2 separate regions of the Homo sapiens genome follow, and region 2 is linked to region 1. The links are contacts of gene promoters, found by promoter capture Hi-C in blood cells and fetal thymus (Javierre and others, 2016). All regions are on one chromosome and are shown on one strand. The core of a region is centred on a gene start or on the middle of the fragment in contact, and the rest is flanking DNA. Distances in the headings are between cores, read along the strand shown.

Region 1 (3,377 bases), core at 590-3,089:
AGGAAGTACAGTTTGTTAACAAACATTTAGAAAACTGCTCTACCTAACTGAAATCAAAGATATGCAAACTGAAGGGAGAAAATTTCCCTATATAATCCGCAAAAAAAAAAAAATTCAATAATACTCAAATACTAGTGAAGGTGTAATGATGTATGCTCAAGCATTAATGATGGTAGAGTACATTTACCTAACTCTTGGAAAGACACTTCCTGAACATTTATCAGTAAACCTTAAAATACCCAACTACTGTGACTTAAAATTCCACTCCTGGGAATATGCCCTAAGGAAAGAATCATCAATATCTTAAAGTGTCGCGCACAAAAATGTTAGTTACACACTTAACGATGGTGAAATTAGGCAAATGTTAAAAACATAGGCACTTGATGGAAACTTATGTAATCATTAAAATGTTTTCAAAGTGCATGCAATAACACGAAAAACGTTTATGATGTAAGGCAAAGTGGAAAAGTGTGTAACACTGTATGCATGTGTTTGTATACTACACTTTCATAGAACAAAGGCTAAAAAGGAAAAAAATTTAAATGTGAACCATGAGAGATTTTTTCCATCCCTTATATTTTTCTTTTTTTTTTTGAGACGGAGTCTCGCTTTGTTGCCCAGGCTGGAGTGCAGTGGCGTGATCTCGGCTCACTGCAACCTCCGCCTCCAGGGTTCAAACCATTCTCCTGCCTCAGTCTCCCGAGTAGCTGGGATTACAGGCGCCCGCCACCACGCCCGGCTAATTTTTGTATTTTTAGCAGAGATGGGGTTTCACCATGTTGGCCAGACTGGTCTGGAACTCCTGACCTCAGGTGATCCGCCCGCCTCGGCCTCCCAAAGTGTTGGGATCACAGGCATGAGCCACCCACCGCTCCTGGCCAATCCCCTATATTTCTATTTGAACCTTAAAAAAAAAAAAAGACCCTTCTTTAGCCGAGCGGCGGTGAGTCCTATTCTCATGATATGTCCGGGGGCTTGAAGACTGCGGGAGGGAAAGCCTCTGGGACCTCACCTCAGAGCGATTCTGCTCTGCTTCAAAGCGTCCCCTCTTAGGCCGGGCGCGGCGGCTGACGCCAGTAACCCCAACACTTTCGGAGGCCGAGGAGCGAGGACTCCTTGAGCCCAAGAGTTCGAGACCAGCCTGGGCAATATAGTGAGACCCCCCCCCCCCACCACCGTCTCTACAAAAAAAATTTTTTTAATTAGCCAGGCGTGGTGGCCGCGCCTGTGGTCCCAGCTGCTCCGGAGGCTTAAAGTGGGATGATTACTTAAGCCAGAGTTCGAGGCTGCAGTCAGCCGTGTTCGCGCCACTATACTTCAGCCTGGGCGACAGAGACCTTTTCTAAATAATAAATAAGTAAATAAGTAACGTGCCGCCTCTTCACTCCCAATTCCCTCCGCCTTTCCCCGCCCCGCCTCGTCGAAGCCGGACCCGCGGCGGCCCGCCCCTCCCCCACGACCAGGGCCGGGAACTGCGGGTGCGCGGGGCGGGAGTCGGGCGGGCTTAGGCGCGGCCGACACGTGGGGAGGGAGGCCGCGGCCCAGGAGGCGGGCCCGGAGTGGGTGTGGGTGTGTCCGTGCGTGGGAGAAACCAACCTCAGCCTCCTCCGAGGCGCCACGTTTCAGCACGGCTCGTTGGGCCCGGGAGGTCGGAAATCAGTCCCCACGCCCCGGACCCCCTCCTGGAGGGACAACGAACACAGGCGCGGGACGGCTTCGGTCACCGCCCGCGCCGCCCTTTGCCCCCGTGCCTGCTCGCGCGTCACCCCCGCCCCGGTGCGGTGGTAGGGCCCGGCGCGACGTCACCCATTGTTTACAAATCAACCCGAGCCGGCAGGATTCCGGCTCCAGCGGCTGCAGGCGCGTGGCTCGAGTGCCTGGCGGGCTCCGGCTTCCGCGTCCGCCCCTGCTCCGGCTTCGCCCGCAGCTCCGCGCCCGCGGGCAACCAAGCCCCCAGCGAAGCCCGCACAGCTCCGGGTGCCAGGACGGGGGGCCATGCCGTGCCGGAGGGAGGAGGAAGAGGAAGCCGGCGAGGAGGCGGAGGGGGAGGAAGAGGAGGACGACAGCTTCCTCCTGCTGCAGCAGTCGGTGACGCTGGGCAGCTCGGGCGAGGTGGACCGGCTGGTGGCCCAGATCGGCGAGACGCTGCAGCTGGACGCGGCGCAGGACAGCCCGGCCTCGCCGTGCGCGCCCCCGGGGGTGCCGCTGCGGGCCCCGGGGCCCCTGGCTGCGGCGGTGCCGGCGGACAAGGCCCGGCCCCCGGCGGTGCCGCTGCTGCTGCCGCCCGCTTCGGCTGAGACGGTGGGCCCGGCGCCCTCTGGGGCCCTGCGCTGCGCCCTAGGGGACCGCGGCCGCGTGCGCGGACGCGCTGCGCCCTACTGCGTGGCGGAGGTCGCCGCAGGCCCCAGCGCGCTGCCGGGGCCGTGCCGGCGAGGATGGCTCAGGGACGCGGTCACCTCCCGCCGCTTGCAGCAGCGCCGATGGACCCAAGCCGGGGCACGCGCCGGCGACGACGACCCGCATCGGCTCCTCCAGCAGCTCGTGCTCTCGGGAAACCTCATCAAGGAAGCCGTGCGGAGACTCCAACGAGCCGTCGCCGCGGTTGCAGCCACGGGCCCCGCAAGCGCCCCTGGGCCCGGGGGAGGCCGCAGCGGACCTGACCGCATTGCCCTGCAGCCCTCAGGCTCCTTGCTCTGACGCAGGCCTCCTGGAGGAGGAAGTGGAGGCCGCTGCGTAGACCCAACAGCGTCCAGTTCCTACTAACTCTGAGCTGAAGCCGACGTCGCCAGCCTGGGAGCGACCACTTTGGCTGCGGGGAGGCGCGTGGGGAGAGATCTCAACCAGAGAAGTTACCAGCCGCGGCGAGGCCGTCGGAGAAAACTTAAGCGTGGAGAAATGTATGCGCCAGGGTGCTTCCGTGGGGCATGAGAATTTCCCGGGCCATCCAAGCCCAAGGACCTGGGATAAACTGGGAGAACTATGGCAGCTACTTGCATCGACTTGTACCTCACTTAGCCCTTGGGGGCGTCGTGAGCTTGGATTGTTTAAGGAGGGCTCAGGGGTAGGAATCGCGATGGCTTTATAACAATACTTGAAAACTAACGACACGCATACATTTTCTTATTTTCTGGTGGAGGAGCTTAGTAAGTGGTGCTACAATTGCTGTGCAAAGAAATTCCAGAGGGGAGAAGAATGTAAAAGTTTGGTGGTGGGTGGCTTGGCATTGCCCCTTTTTCCCACCGATTCGGTGGCTGGTGAAGGTGGGAGATGTGAACTCCAATTAAGGGACTGGAGAGAGGTGAAGAATTTTGCAGGTGGGAGATTTGGATTTGAATGTGGACTTGTAAATGACTTGACCTTGCCATCTGTGTTCAAGG
Region 2 (3,377 bases), core at 455-2,954, 110 kb before region 1:
CCTCAGGTGATGTGCTTGCCTCAGCCTCCCAAAGTGCTGGGATTGCAGGCGTGAGCCACCGCACCTGGCCCAGACTTTTCATCTCAAGAAATAGAAGTAAAGCAAAATTCAAAAAGATGTGTGTAGGGGAGAAGGGGCTAATCTCAGTGAACGGGAGGAAACAGAGCAAAGCGCAGCTTTACTACCACCCCAAGCACAAGCCCGAGTACTCTGATCCTTCAGTAATAGTCACAGGCCATACTGGTCATCTGCCACCAGACTGGAGGAGATTGCTGGCCACAACACTCCCCTCTTCCCATGGCTTTAAGTCACATCTGTTTCCCAATGGGAAAGTCGACTGAGGGGACAGGGAAGGACAGACGGCAAAGCCATCAGAAGTCAGGTGAACTGAGATCAAAGTCGTGGCGAATGTCATCTGGACAAAGACGCTGCTCTCAGGATGTTTGCAATCTCAAGTAGGAGATACCCAACATCAATAAAGAGTAGCATTTTATTCATGTGCAGACCTCCCTTCTGGGCTAACACGCTGAGAAGAAAAAGAGTAACAACTTTATTTTGGGGCTGCTTATCTTTTGATGACGGGCCCACACAACCAGAGTTCGGCTTTTTCAACCAGAGAAAGCTTACTGAAGTGGGGATGAGGGGCCGCGAAGAGGATCGGACCGCAGGACTGGAAGCTGCAGTTTAAAAAACCGGGAAAAGGCCGGAGGCAGTGGCTCATGCCTGTACTCCCTGCACTTTGGAAGGCCGAGGCGGGCGGATCAAGAGATCAAGACCATCCTGGCTAACATGGTGAAACCCCGTCACTACTAAAACTACAAAAATTAGCTGGGCGTGGTGGCGCGCGCCTGTAAGTCCCAGCTGCGCGGGAGGCTGAGGCAGGAGAATCGCTTGATGCCGGGAGGCGGAGGTTGCAGTGAACAGAGATCGCTCCACTGCACTCCAGCCTGGCGACAGAGCGAGACTCCTCAAAAACAAAACAAAAAAACCGGGAAAAGGTTTTATTTCTCAATGACAGCCGCGAGGTGAAACTGCGATGGACTGGAAGTCAAAAACCGTGGGTTCCAGTTTGGGCTCTATCTTAACTATCTTGATCATTTTGGACAAGTCAAACCCTGTCTCTGAATCTGAGGTTCCATATCTGTGAAACAGACGAGTTGGGTCGCTTGACCTCCTTCCCTCCTGCTCTGAGCGTAACGATTGCTCGGAAGGTGCGCTCGGGCTGAGGAGGGCACGGCCCCGCAGGGCGGGGCGAGGAGAGAGCAGGAACCCGCACTCAAGACAAGGCCCCAGGGCAGTGCCCTACCCAGAAAAAGGGACTAGGATGGGGAGCAAGGGCCGAGGCTTCGCCCTTACCTGCCGCCTGCCGACTCCCCAGTCAGCCAAACCGAGCCCCGTAGCCTCTGCCGCCGCTCACTGCCACCCCCTCCGACTCGGCGCCCCGGCCGGGCCCGGCTCAATCCAAACCACCATGGCCCGCCGCCCGCAGCGCCAGGCAGCGGACCCGGACCCGCCGCCAGCCCATCCTCAACCACACGCGCAGGCGCCAGCGTGGACCTCTGAAGTTCCGCCCCCGGATTTGTCCCGGGGTAACCTGGGAAATGGAGTTTACTCGCAAGGATAAAGAGTACCAATTGACACGTGTCTTACTGCGGAACTGTGCCTGGGTTTGGCCAATGAGAAATCGACTTCGTTTTCATCCTGGTTTTGGGACAGCGGCAATCATGGCGCCACCTGTGAGATACTGCATCCCCGGTAAGTGAGCGCTTCCCGTACAGAGTCCTGGATAGGGGCTGAAGCAAGAAGGCTAAACGGCCTACAGCTTCTGGGGGCCCGTGACCGATGCAGCATTTTTTCTGCAGGCGAACGTCTGTGTAACTTGGAGGAGGGCAGCCCGGGCAGCGGCACCTACACCCGCCACGGCTACATCTTTTCGTCGCTTGCCGGCTGTCTGATGAAGAGCAGCGAGAATGGCGCGGTAAAGGAAGCGGCATGCCATCTCCCCTCTGTTTTTCCCTTAGGCTGCCCTTGAGTTCCAGTCCTTAGGCATGGGCACTGCGGACGCGTCTTTAGTGCCTCAGTGGTACAATGTTGGTCTCTTAGTTTCTTCTAGCCGTATCGCCGCTGTGGTGCACTTAGCCACCACACACTAGTTGTGTTGATCTCGCTTGGTTGTGCTGCTGACCCTCGGGGAGGGAAGTTGGGACAAAAGCAGATGCGAACTCAGTATCCCATCCCAGCCCAGCTCAGCCCAGCAGTGAGTTGCATACTGTATGAATGTTGCTTACCTTTCCGACTTTATCTAGCGCCACTATCTCCACCTCACTGACGCAATCTAGTCATACTGTCTTTTCTGTGTTTAAAAGTTATAATCACAGTCTCTGCTTGCCCTTTAAAAATTTTTTATAACATACTAGCTTCTTTCAGTGTCGGTAATGCGCCAAGCTTTCTCCTGCTACAGAGCCTTTGTAACATGCCATCTATCTGGAACGCTTCTATCTTCCTAGGCCTATTTAATTCCTACCTCCTTTAGATAGCTTCTCTACTATCACCTCAGAGAAGTCCTTCTGGACCCACTAATTGAGGAAAGGAGTTTTGTGGGGTGTTTTGTTTTTGTTTGTTTTGTTAAAGACTCACAAAAAACTCTGTTCCTTTTCTTCCAAGCACTATGTCAGCATATGATGAGACACTCAGGTATATGTTTCCTACTAGACTTCTCCCCTGCTTAAATCTAAGTCCGTGAAAGCAGGCCCTACCACCATACCATCCGTATATAGCACAAGGCAGCTCCTCAATAAATGTTGAATGTGTGAGTAATACCTACCTTTCTAGTTTCAGAGATAGATCCAGGATTAGCTCAGGATCATATAAGCAATATTTGAAGGAGCACAATAGAAAGAGGATTCAGAATTAGAACAGTTACGTTCTGGCTAACTTGACTTTGATTCTGCTTTGAGTAAGTAACTTAAGCTGTCTGATTCAAGGGGCTTTCTATTCAGTCATTGTTGGGAATGTTCTTAACAGTCCTGAGTTTGTTCATTTCATAGATATCACTTGAGTATTTTCATGTGTCAGGCACAGCGCTGACTTGGTTTCTGCTATCAAAGGACACAGACACAAATTGTAAACAAATAAATGCTCAAATGAGCATATGGTTACATATGTGGTGGTGCTTTGAAAGAATATTACAGGGCACCTTGAGAACATGTAACAGGCAAACCCATCCTAGTCAGCAGAAGTGACATTTAAGCTGAATCATCTAAAGAGTAGGTAAGAGTCAGGTGGGTGGAGAGAGTGCAGCTCTGGCAGAAAGAATAGGTTGAAGAGAGATCTGAAAGTGGGAAGAATTTAGTAAGTTGGGGAAACTGAAAGAAGGC

What was found. The method cuts DNA at HindIII sites, captures the fragments that hold promoters and counts their contacts. A CHiCAGO score of 5 or more calls a contact.
Region 2: the fragment with the promoter of EXOSC1 here is called in contact with the fragment with the promoter of FRAT2 in region 1 in 2 of 17 cell types (neutrophils and monocytes); the score reaches 12.6 in neutrophils.

The regions. Positions count from the first base shown.
Region 1 is chr10:97,333,191-97,336,567 of GRCh38, reverse strand. It overlaps FRAT2 (FRAT regulator of Wnt signaling pathway 2), which reads left to right and starts at 1,839. Exons shown (of 1, transcript NM_012083.3): 1 at 1,839-3,377. The coding sequence starts at 1,996. The coding sequence ends at 2,697. It overlaps LOC105378448 (a long non-coding RNA gene), which reads right to left and starts at 1,722. Exons shown (of 2, transcript NR_188201.1): 1 at 1,597-1,722. RefSeq lists silencers at 1,271-1,620, 1,751-1,900, 1,991-2,140, 2,481-2,610, 2,621-2,670 and an enhancer at 2,221-3,128. The HindIII fragment of the contact is 20,442 bases long and covers 1-3,377 here.
Region 2 is chr10:97,444,333-97,447,709 of GRCh38, reverse strand. It overlaps EXOSC1 (exosome component 1), which reads left to right and starts at 1,704. Exons shown (of 8, transcript NM_016046.5): 1 at 1,704-1,755; 2 at 1,863-1,978. The coding sequence starts at 1,725. It overlaps ZDHHC16 (zDHHC palmitoyltransferase 16), which reads right to left and starts at 1,535. Exons shown (of 12, transcript NM_198046.3): 1 at 1,357-1,535. RefSeq lists a silencer at 1,274-1,483 and enhancers at 1,415-1,994, 1,995-2,575. The HindIII fragment of the contact is 1,823 bases long and covers 625-2,447 here.